Linked DNA regions of Homo sapiens: region 1 is linked to region 2. Evidence: promoter capture Hi-C in human tissues and cell types (Jung and others, 2019). All regions are on one chromosome and are shown on one strand. Each heading gives the region's core, a stretch centred on a gene start or on the middle of the fragment in contact. The rest is flanking DNA. Distances are from core to core; before and after follow the strand shown. Region 1 holds the start of LOC105378012 (a long non-coding RNA gene). Region 2 holds the start of PDE7B (phosphodiesterase 7B).

What was found. The method cuts DNA at HindIII sites, captures the fragments that hold promoters and counts their contacts. A contact is called where the count stands out against the background at its distance.
Region 1: a fragment that was not itself captured here is called in contact with the fragment with the promoter of PDE7B in region 2 in 1 of the 25 tissues and cell types used here (mesenchymal stem cells).

Annotation. Positions count from the first base shown.
Region 1 is chr6:135,804,854-135,811,221 of GRCh38, reverse strand. It overlaps LOC105378012 (a long non-coding RNA gene), which reads left to right and starts at 5,051. Exons shown (of 3, transcript XR_943034.3): 1 at 5,051-6,368. LOC101928326 (a long non-coding RNA gene) reads left to right here and starts at 1,365. Exons shown (of 2, transcript XR_245604.4): 1 at 1,365-3,361; 2 at 3,904-4,077. The HindIII fragment of the contact is 3,688 bases long and covers 2,491-6,178 here.
Region 2 is chr6:135,847,530-135,853,701 of GRCh38, reverse strand. PDE7B (phosphodiesterase 7B) reads right to left here and starts at 2,001. Exons shown (of 13, transcript NM_018945.4): 1 at 1,683-2,001. The coding sequence starts at 1,703. RefSeq lists a silencer at 1,977-2,214. The HindIII fragment of the contact is 14,106 bases long and covers 1-6,172 here.

The DNA of each region.
Region 1 (6,368 bases), core at 3,085-5,584, 45 kb after region 2:
TTCCCTTTAATGTGTTTCTGCTTATCTGAAAATCACTTATAAGAGAGGAGTAACAAAATAACAAGGTGGCAACATTTTTTTAAAACTTCAAAACCATGAATGAGGTTATAAGTAAAGTACTGATGGCCCAGTGAGTGTGAAGTTAATAAGCCTGTCACCCCTGCATGCTGTCTAGTCTTGGGTATCTGGGATATTCTTTTTACCCAGGCATGTGACCGTGCTTCTGTCTTGGTGGAAGAGAGCTTATAACAGAAATTAAAATAACTTTATTAACAAAATTAAAATATATTCATCTTCACTTTATTTTGTGGGTTGAGACTTGTATTTGCTACATGCATATGGACTTGCGCATCTACTCTGAACACCACTACGGTTCTGCACAGTGATCTTTGTTAGTTATTTCTACCTTAGTTCCCATTCTCTATCACTTAGTTTCTGTTTCTTCACTTACCAGCACTAACTTTTTACAGCCGCAGTTTCAAGGCAAATCTCTCCTTCTTCCCTCTGAGGGGCATTCATTTGTATAACCATTGCCGCTTCCAATTACTCCACTGAGTAAGTGCCACTTAAGATTCTCATCAGCCTGTTGTTACCATTATTCCAGTGCAGTAGCAACCATGAATGCCAGATTTGAAAAACATATTTGAAACTAGGAAAAACATAGTGGAAAAAATTAAATGTGATACCTACTCTTTCAGTAATTCCCTCGTGTGTGTTTTTCAAATGAAGAGTTGATTAATGATAATATGAAAAACACTCCTGAAGCCAGCGTATCAATTACTGTCTTTAAATTAATGAGCCCTAGGTACTTTTCTTTCTGATTGACATAGCCCCTTTTAAAAATTTCCGTCTCTTTAATTGAGCATAAAACTATAATTGTTTTTTACAGTCTCTTTATGGGGTGTGCCATAATACACTGACATTCTGTACAGGAGTTTATACCTTGAAACAATTATATGTTTATATCCTGGATAAAAAATTAAGTTATTGAATATGATTCAAGATTTTCTAAATCATACCAAATTCTTCTTCACAGGAAATATGTCATATCCATGTTTTAGTGTAGTGTGTGGTAACAGTCTTTGGATCACGTGTCACATAAATAGTACCACGGTAGCATTTGTATTTGACAAGTAAGTTATAGCTATAAATAAGCCATTATATGGAGGAGAATATCAAACTTTTCTTTACTTCTTTACCCAATTAGCAGATTTTAAGAAAGGAATTTAGAATTCATTATCATACCTTTATCAGTAGTGATGAAGGGTGTGGGCTCTGGAGGAGAGAATCAGGGGAGTAAATATTAGCCTTGCGACTTTTGGCTTGTAGAGAGGAAAAACTTTTCCTATGCCCTCTTATCTTCTGTAGTTGGGGCCTGTGAATTAAATTAATAGAAGACAGATTAACAGAAGAAAAGCATGCAAAATTTACTGGATGTTAATCTTTGTACATGTACATGGGCTTTGAAGAAACAGAAGGAAACAGCCCAAAGAAGTGACTAGACTTGGCCTTATACACCATTTTAACAAAGAGTGATAAATTATGGAGAAGTGACTACACAAAAGAAAGGGGCTTGGCTTTCTAGGAGTGGCAAATTGTGGGAAGGTAAATATATGGGGGAAATTAACTGCTAGATAAAGGTTATGTAGTAAGGTTTGTCTATACAGACTTATTTAGGTGCTGTCTCCATTTCCAGTGGTACAGTTTGTTATCCCTTTCCTGATATGGAAGGTGGGGAAATACTTTCACAAGAAAGCTTTATGCCCTATGTTTAGGCAGATAGGGGAGGGAAAAGAGCTCTTCTTGTGTCTGCTTTTTCTCAATTGCCTTCAACTTAAAATAATTATTATGCCAAAGTGGCATATTTTGGCGTGACATATTCTAATCCCCTTCAGATGTTATGACTGTCAGCAAGTTCTTATACTCCTCCAAGCCTCAGCCTCCTCCTGGGCAAATGAAGACAATAATGGTATCTATTTCTTAGGGTTGTTATGGGCATTCAATAGATAATACATATGAGCAGCTCAGCACAGAAGTAGGTACATAATAAGTGTTCAATAAAGGAGAGCTATCATTCTTATTTTTATCTCCAGAATCCGTTTTTTGCTTTCACCTATAGAGATATAGACAGTACATGCATACCAACTCTGCCCATTAATTAGCATATATATATATATGTATTTAAGAAGTGGAGGAATGAGAAAAAACAATATCAGGATCATTTAGTCTTAAGCGTAAAGTGTTAAGGAGGATTTAAACAGCAATGTTTAAGCTGAAGATAAAAAAGGGAGGAGGTTTAAATTAAGGAATAAAAATATTTAGGTTCAGATTAAATAATTTATCAGATACAACTCCTTAGTTATGGGTGTGTGTATGTAATTAGATCTCCTCATCATCTACTCTTAAAACCAGACTTATCGCTTTTACTCTCCACTCCAATCACCCACCAGGTCATGCTGATGTTAACTGGCTCATGCCCATCACTTCTTTTTAGTTCCCAATGTTACCTCCTAGGCTGAGTTTTCATCTTGTTAAACCTAGATTAATGTAATACCTTCTAAACAGTCTCTTAATCTTTTAATATCTTCCTTATTCTATTCAATCCTGTGTTCTGCCAACCAATTACTATTCCTCAAAAACCACTTTGTTTAATCTCTCTGAATTCCGACTGCCTACATAGTAAGATTCTAATTCTTTGGTTTAGCTTTCAAGATTCTATTCAATCCAACTTTAACCTACCTTTTTTGTTCCATTCCTCTCCCCTCCCCATCCACTCTAGTTAGAGGGATGTGGACTAGAATGGGAATAAGGACGCAGACTCCAGAGCAGACTGCCTGCATGAACTCCAGGTCCCCACCAGCCAGTTCTAAACTAAAAGTTCAGATATTCTGAACCATGGAACAAACATGATGTGGCCTGCTGAAGTAGAAATGTGGACTTTTGGGATGTGAGACCGAAATCACTCATAGATAAGGGTCCTTCCTAAATCTACAGAGTGGGCAACAAACCTAATTCACTTGTTAAAATAATCATTGAGATGGAAATTGCAAACGTTCTGACTCTGGAGAGACAGAGGGTGACTGGCAGGCAAAGGAGAAATCTCAGGCTTCAGTAATGAGAATTTTTCATGAGTCGCCTAATCAAGCTCATGAGACCTGGAGAGTCTATGAGGAAAGGGTTCAGTGATAGAGAAAGCCGGAGATGATGAGGCTGGGAGAGTAAGCTTCTCTTACCATTGTTCTCTATTCTCCCTACTCCCATATTCTTCCAGTGGGACAAAGTGCCCCAAAGTATAAGTCAGTGTGTCCCAAGGGGTCTGGAGTTTAGGTACCTGAACATGGAAGAGGGCCTTGCTAAACTGGTGAGTATCAGAGTTGGGTGGGTGCTAGTGTCACAGGTGTGACAAGTCATCCAGGTTGGATTTGGGCATCAGTCAGAGGACACGGAGGAAAACAGAGAGTTTGGATAGGCTCCCACACCTGTGGGAGATCAGCTCCCCACTATTTCCTTGAAGCCCAAGACGTCATTAATTCCTAGCTTTTTGTGGCTCCAAAGCAATTTGCCCATGCACTGGCTTTCTGAATGGTGTTTGGACTATCACCTACGCAGAATCTTCCATTTTTCCTGGATGATATTTATCCTCATGTTTTTATGTCACCAAATGTTCTTTGGAATAATAACTGTAACATTTTTTGAGTGCCTGCTATATTCTAGAGCCTTTAAAATCTTTATATTCACCATCAGCCCTGCTTTATTAATATAGAAACTAAGCCTATGTAGGTTAAGTGGTACAGCCAGGACCCTAACCCAAGTCCGTCTGTGTCCAGAGCACAAATTATTGTAGCTTTCTTCATAAAAATCTGTAAATTTCTCATCTCTCTCTCTTTCTCTTTTAACCCACAGGTTTGACCTTTCTCTCATCCCCAGCAAAGTTCTGAATGCGGGTTCTGACTCTGAGCTGAAGGCATACTTCATGAAGTTTCCTGCTGCCCTTTCACTACACAGCTGGACTTGGAGGCAAACTTGGAGATAAAAATATAGTTCCCGTGCTATCCCTTATAAAGATTTAAGAGAAAGTATAGAAAGAAAGGCAAAGCTAATTACTCAATATGCATCCGTTAGTTTTAATGCAATAAAAGAGTCAGTCCCATAATATAGCAAAGGTTACACTTAAAACTTAAATGCAAGATATTAGAAAGTACTTCATAAGAAATTAATGCTGTACTATTAGGGCCTTTAAACCAAGCAGTCAATGCATCAACAAATCTTTATAGGGAAACTATTATGTGGCAGACAAGGTTAGGTGGCTGCAATATGTCTGCCTTTGTTGATGAGTTTCATCTTTCCTATTGAGCGGCCTATAAACATGGCAGCATTCCTATGTCCAGTTTACCTATTATAAAATCTTAAATGAATTATGTTAAAAATCATGCTAGCAGTACCAATGAATTTTTTAGAGACAATGCTTTATTGGATTCATTTCTTTTTTTCCAACTATTTTGTCTGGAAAGATGGGATTTTTAAAATGTATAATGACATTTTGGCTAATAATTATAGTTTAGAACTTCATTCTTTCCGTCAAGAACTGTTATTTGAGTGCTGGATCAAATGGCTTTTCTACAGATCTCGTTCCTTCAGATCTACGTAACTAAAGCTCTGTTTAAAAAACAAACAAAAATTCACATGCTAGTGCTGTTACAGAAGTTTTATCAGACTGGCAGTCCAAGTGGTTAAAATTCCTTGTAACGGGTATCAGTTTGAAAAGATTCTTGACTGGGTGTAGTGACTTATGGCTGTAATTCCAGTGCTTTTGAAGGCCAAGGCAGGAGGCTTGCTTGAGGCCAGGAGTTTAAGACCAGCCTGGGCAACATAAGTAGACCCTGTACTTGCAAAAAAAAAAAAAAAATTAATAAATAAATTAACCAGGAGTGCTAATGTGTGCCTGTAATCCTAGCTACTTGGGAGACTGAGGCAGGAAGATTGCTTGAGCCCAGGAGTTTGAGGCTGCAGTGAGCTGTGATTGCACCACTACACTGCAGCCTAGGTGACAGAGTGAGACCCTGTCTCTAATACATAAATAAATAAAAACAAAGATTCTTAATACCCTTTACCTTTTTCATTAGGAAATATTTTATTAGGAAATTTATTAGGAAATATTTCATTAGTGAAGGAAAGTCTCACTTTTTAAACTTGACTTTGACCAACACTCTGTTCTCATGACTTATGTCCCTTTAATACCTAAATCATTTGCCTAGCTAATTGGGCCTGCACCAGTGTGTACTGTTAGATCCCATGGAACGTTGACCTGACAGGTGTTCTATTTGTCAGGCAGGGCTTTCCTTGGCTTCCCTTTTATCATTTCTTCTTCCTGCTTCTTCAAGAGACTTATGACTCTCTGTCATAAGCTCTCAGTTATAGAACAGAGCTATACATAAAACGTGCATATACACAAATGGGTAAGGAGTATACCTGCACTAAATAATTCTTTCTCTCTGAAACTCAATAACAACTGGCCTCTTGTCTGAAAAACATCAGGACTCTTGCACTAAAGACCAGGCAGCCATCCAGCTGTGCCCAGTTGCTATTTTTTGGTATCCATTCTAAGAAGTTATCATTTTCATGAGAATGAAAATGTTGTACCACAGAAATTTTAACTTTGGAAAGCAACTCTTTGGAGTTCTAATTTCTCGTAGGGCAATATTTTTCAGGCTTGTTGGGTTTCTGTGTTTGAACATCTGAGTTCTCACTTTTAGAGGCTTGTGCTTCCTAGCACTCTATCCTATTACACCTATGCCAGGACTTGGTAGCTAAAGTATAAGCTGAAATAATTATGTCGTTAATTCATGCTAAAACCTGTCTTACTCCATTTAGCAAGTTTTATTTTGATATATCCATACAATCACTTCAAATCACTACTTCATTTTGGCAATGCTAAATTGTTTATACAACGCTACTGTTCATGCTCATCCTGCAGAACAGCTAGTGAAGTATGTCTGTAACCATATGGCTTGTTGTTATCATATCATTATACCTCATTTAATAACAGTTCCTAATATATTGGGTATTGCATAGAAGACACTCAAATTTTTTTTTTGTAAGTAAGTACTGTTAACAAGGCAAGCTTCTGTCAGTAGGTTACGCTAATATTCAATTTGTATCATATTTAGATAACATCTTGAATGTGTAATTATTTCTATTTGACTCAATGGCCTCGGTTGCTGATGAGAACCCAAGCTTTGAGAATCAGAGATTGGTTCTTTCTTACTAAGTAAAACAATGCATTATTTATTTTAGAGTTAATCCAAACTGACATTTTTATGACTGCTATGGACAAAATGTTTGTATCTCCCCAAAATTCATATGTTGAA
Region 2 (6,172 bases), core at 752-3,251:
ATAGTCACCACTGATTTTGTCACATGTTGTTCAAGAGAGTGAGTACATTCTGAAATTAGACAGCTTACAGTGTCAGGTAAAAATTCTTACAAGGCAGAGACAGTTTTTGGAGTTGCAACTAGTTAACTGTGGGCTTCTACTTGAGACAAAAGTGACTTCATTTTATTGGAGAAAATGTCAATCAAGACGTAACTACTGACACCTGTCTTTGTTTCACCAGCCAGTAATAAAAGATAAAGCAGAGGAAATGGAGGAGCTGCAGTTATGCGTTTGCAACACACAAAGTCCTTGTTTTCCCACTAGGCGCTGCAGAAAAGCAATTGTCCATTCACGGCACATCCTCTGCATTTCAGAGCTAATATTTTTGCAGTTCTTAACTTAGTACATTCCAGTCTTATGCAGTTAATTTTTTTAACCCTTTGAAATACACCTCATGTTTGAAATCGTGCTTAATATTACTGCTAACATGACCCAGTTTTAAAGCTTTCAGGTTCTCAATGTTGAGAATAGAAACTTTAAGAAAATCGGTTAGAAATTTTGGAACAGGGTAAGGATTTCAAATAATCCTGTCTTATTTGCTATTGCATAACTTTGAGAAGGGTAATAGGGAAATCCATGGTAACCATATATTACTTAAATTGCTGTTACAAAAACCGACTCTTTGGATAGGAATGATTTTTAGCAGGGATCCTCCTTAAGACATAATAATGTGCCACTGAAAACAACATTAGCCCTGTATTGAATTGCCAATCTTCCTGCAGCATTTAGTGTGTTTACTGTATATGAATGCCTATGCCTGTCTCTGGTGCAAAGAGGTTTACTCTTATTGCAATAGTCACTCTGGCTAGAGCACATGAAGAACAGAATTTTTAAATGATTAATTAGTCCCCAGGCTCAATCACTTAAGCCCCTAATTGAATATCTGACTCCATTTTCAACTATTGTAGGAAAAGATAATTAGCAAATTTGCAGTGGTAATAAAGAAGTTTTACTTTCCTTTATAAATAATAATATCTAAATTTCTGGTCATGTAACTTAGTACTTGCATCTCTCCTGGACTTCTGAATCCAAAACATTTTTTGAAAAATGCAACAAGGTGATGAAGGATTTTTCTTCAGAGCTCATTTTTTGGACATCTTCTATTGATTTTTTTCTACCTTCAGTCTCACTATCAGCTTCTTCCCTTCTTGCCACTAATTTCTTCATCTTGAAGTCTGCTATCAACCAACATGAAAAACTCAAGAAAAAAACTAATTTCCTTCTTCCCTGTTCCACAAACCTTACCAATCCCTTTACCAGCATTTTCCTATCCTGTCCCACCAAAAATGAAAATTACCCAACTCCAAGATTTATGTTGGAGAAAAAAAATATTGCATTCTTTATTTTTTTTTTTAAAGACCACCTCAGTGTGGGCTCAAAGTGCAGTGAAAATGCCGGAGTCTCATTACACTGGTTGGAATGAAACCCTGCTGCCCTTAAACGGTTAATTCAGGGTAAGTGATAATGTTTAGTCAGTTCGCCTAGAAAAAGGAAGGAAATTCAAAAGCTGGTTGCTGTAGTAACAATCACAGACAAAAAACATATATATGTACAGGTTCATTTTAAATAAAAATCCTGCCATCTCTCTGTGACTCTATTCTCTCAAGAAAACTGAGCTTGCCGCTTAAATTTGTTGTACATACCTCAACCATTAAACAAGACATTTAACCATAGTGGCAGTTCTGTGACCTTTGAATGCCGTGAAATCTCTGAGCGGTGCTGCTTGTTCATGAAGACTTGTGCTGCAGAATCCAGCAACTTCATCCAGGATTAGGAATATAATTAAGTAACAAAAAAAAAAAAAGAAAAAAAAGGAAAAGAAATAAAGAAACACAAAAGCACACAAGGAGATCGAGAAAGAAGGAAGGTAGAAAGAGAGACTCTCCCTGGGTGAGTAACACCACTTTTCTCCCAGACAAGTGCTGGGACAGAGCCGAGCCTGCTGCAGTGCCCAGACCAACTGACTGGCTGGGTGAGCAGCCGCCGGCCTGCTAGGCTGGGAGGTGCTGTCAGTTGCCACAGGCAAGGAAAAGCAGAGACCAATCGGCTTCAACTCTGGCAGCTTACTGGAGTGGAGCCTTTTCTGTTTATGTTTCCTCATTTCAAGAGTGACGTCAAAGGGTTTAGTTTTTCCTCTGCATGTGCTATTAATTTTAAAGTACTGTACTATGGGAAGAATGTGTGTGTGCCTGTGGTCAGCCTGGGCACCCCACTCTCAGGAGAGCCCAAGAAACATTTTCTATATTCGGGAATACATTTAAAGAATTTAAAATACCTTGTGGTGAGGTGTATAAAAACAAAAGCAAAACAAAACAAAAATTAAATATAAAACCCTGAGCTAAATCATAGCAGCAAGATGTAGATTTTTTCCATCTGTGAGTGTATGTGCTCCATGCTCACTTGGCAGCTGTTGCTTATTTTTTTTTACCTAATTCATTTTTACTCTTACCTAAAAATGAGTTGTTAATTAAACTTGATAGCCATAGAGGCAGAATCGTACAAATGCACTGGTGAACAAAATGATGTGCAATGAAACATAGAACTCCTGTGTCAGTTTGTGCCATGGGTCCCTGCGTTTCCTCCAGCTTCCGTGGTGAAGCCTCAGGCTTGTTCCTGCCAGGGAGATGCCTCCTGATGCCAGCAGGAGTCATTCAAGAAGCAAGGCTATGGTGATGCCATGCAGGTGTGCCTGGGGCCTCAGCTTGTTCTTTCCCAAAGAGTATGAAGGTCCAGTTATTTAGGGATACTTCCTTTACCAGGGACCCCAGCTTATCCCTGGGTTACACTTCCCACTCTGGAAAAATCCCCATAGTTGCCATCTGTTGTTTCTGCCTCCCCCACATCCTCCTCCTTTTCCCCATCCCCATCCTAAATTCTGCTAACAGACCTTTTTTGGGTGGGCGGTGGGCGGAACTTTCCTTCCTCTATCTTCTATGGATTGCATGGACTTTGCCCCCAGCCCCATTCCCACGACAGAGCCACAAGGGGGCATGGGACCCACAGGGGCCAATCAGATTTCTCCATTGCTCCGAGGCAGACTATGTTTTAGGGGTGGGCGCAACACTAAAGAATGTCCACATTCCTTTTTCAAATACTAATATTGTTTCTTTGAGAAAGAAAGTATTTATGTATCCCTAAGAGCCTAGGCGCTAGGATTAAGCATCCCTGTAGTTGTTGGGGTTTATCTTTGGTGTTGAAGCTACAATAGTGAACAAAACAGATGGTTCTTTGCCCCCATGGAGTCTACATTTTGGAGAAGCAGGGAAATTGTCAAAGAAAAATAAGTAAACGTATAATGTCAGTTGGCAATGAGGGCTTCAAAATAAGGTAAGGAGAATGAGGTGTGTGTGTACACGTGCATGTGTGTGTGTGTGGTGTGTGTGCTATTTTAGGAAAGATGATCAGGGCAGCCCTCTGATAAAGCAACTTGGAGCGGAGGCCCGAATGATGGGACATAGCAGGTACTGTGTGCCTCTACCTTCCATGCAGATGAAGCCATGGAAAGGTCCCACAACACATGAGTGCTTGGCAGAGCCAAGGAACAGGAAGGGAAATAGAGTGGCTGGAAGAGAATGAGCAAAGGGAAGAAATAAGTTTCAGAAGGTATGTCTGGGACAAGATCAGGACATGTCTTACAGGCCATGCACACGACTTAGATTTTATTCCAAGGTGAAAACCTACCTATCAGAGTGTTTTGAACTGAGGAATGTCTATGATTCGACACGAATTCTGAAGAGATTTCTCTCTTTTCTCTGTGGAAGATAGACTCCTAGGGAGCAAGAGTAGAAGCAGAGAGACCAATAAATGAGGCCACTGTGCTAACCTAAGTGAGAGCACATCATGGCTCGGACTTGGGTGAGAGCAGTGGAGAAGGTGGGAGGGCCAGATTTTGGAAGGGGGCCTGTGTATTTGCAGAGAGCGTTGGCAGTATTTGAAGATGAGAGGTGTGAGAAAAAGAGAGGAATCAAGAGTAATTTCCAGGTTCCTGGCTTGGGCAAACTGGACTAGAGTTGCCATTTACTGACATGGGGAAGACTGGGAGAAGAGCCTGGTTTTGAGGTGAAATAAATAACAGTTCTGGACCTTCACTGAACAGCAACAGATATTTGATTGTGTACTCTGTACCAGGCACTGTTCTAGGTGCTGGGGAGAATGCAGTGAAAACATATAACACACATACACACCCTCCAACACGTAATTCTTTGACCCCACGAAACTTAGATTCTTCTGAAAGGAGAATGGCCATAACAACAAATAAAAAATTTATATAGGATATCGGGTGGTAATACTGTTGTGAAGAAGAAACAGGAGAGGGAAGGGTCACTAGTCAGATAGAGGCTTGCAATTTTAAAGTGAGTATGCAGAGAAGGTGCCACTGCAAAGATGATGTTGGACACAAAGGGGAAGTTGATGAGGGAGGCATAGGGAGAGCATTTTAAACAAGAGGACATTAAGTGCAAGGCTCTGGGGACTGGAGTATTTGGCTGGTAAGTAGTAGGATATGGCAATGGGTGCAGAGGTGACAGATCAAGGAGAGTTTTCTAGGTCATTGTAAGGACTTTGGCTTCCTGTCTGCATGAAACAGGGCTTTAAGGAGAGGAATGAGGCAATCTGACTTACTTTTTGACAGGATCGCTCTGGCTACCATGTGGAGGTCAAGGTAGAAGAGAGTCTAATAAACGATATATTGCAATAAACAAGCCAGACATCCTAGTGGTGTCTACCACGATGCTTTGGTGGAGGTGGCTAGAAGTGGTTTACTTCCAATTATATGTTGGTGTTAAGGACAATAAGACTTGTTAAATGGATTGGGTGCTAAGTACAAAGGAGGGAGATTAGTGAGAGGAGCCAATGACATCTCCAAAATTTGGGGTTCCATCAAGTAGAAGAACAGAGCTAGCACTGACCAAGGGATGGCGGGAGAAGCAGGTTTTGTGGGGAAGATGAAGTTTGATATTGAATTTGTTAACCTTGCCTGTAAGATATCTACATGGAGATGTTGACTAGGCAGTGGAATATATAAGCATGCAGTTTAGGGTACAGTTCTGGGCTGTAGATATAAATTTGGAAGTCATTGTATACCTGTAGAACTTAAAGCCATGAAACTAGATACAATTACCAAGGGAATGAATGCAGATGGAAGAGCTGCAGGCAGTCCACGATTATGCTGTCAAGAATATAAAGAAGGACTAGCAAGGAAGGCTGACAAGGAGCCTCCAGAAAGTATAAGAAAAACCAAGAGAGAATGGTGCCTTAGAAGGTAAATTAACTATTTCAATGATCAGCTGTGTAAAATGACACTTAAATGAAGATTGAAAATTGACCCTTAAACTTAGAATGTGTAATCATTTGTGTCTTTAACAAAAGAAGGTTGAGTGTAGTAGAAAGTTGAAAGGTTAAGAAAAACGAAAGAAGAATTGGGAACAAAGAGTATAGGCAATTATTTCAAGGTGTTTTGCCCCAAAGAGAGCAGAGAAATGGAGCAGTCATTGAAAAGGAATATCAGCATGTTGTACACTGATGGAAAAAATGCAGTTAAGGGGAATAATTGGTGATGCGGAAGAGAGGGAGCAAATTTCTGGGGCACAAATCAAATTTGTGGTAGGCTACATGCCCTCCAGGTAAGTCCACACTCTAATTCCTGGAACGTGGGGACATGTTAATTGCATGGCAAAAGGGACTTTGCAGATTTAATTGAGGTTATGAATCTTAAAGTAGGGAGATTTTATCCTGGGTTTTCTGAGTGTGCCCAATCTAATCACATGAACCCTTAAAAGCAGAGAGATTTTTCTGGCTGGAAGCAGAAGAGAGATGCAGCAGACATCATAGAAGTTCCAAGTTTGAGAAGAATTCACACGATGCTGCTGTCTCTGAGTTGTGAGCCCGTGTGCAAGGATGCAAAAGAGATCTCTACTAGCAAAGAGTGAACCCCCAACTAACAGCTAGCAAGAAAATAGCCACCTAAGTCCTACAACTGCAAGGAACTGGATTTGCCAACAACTTGAATGAACTTGGAAACAGAGTCTTCCCTGGAACCTCCAGAAAATAATACAGCCCTGCTGACACCTTGTTTTCTTGCCTTGTGAGATTTTAAGCAAAGTACCTAGCCAAACCCACCTAGAGAAACAGGGAC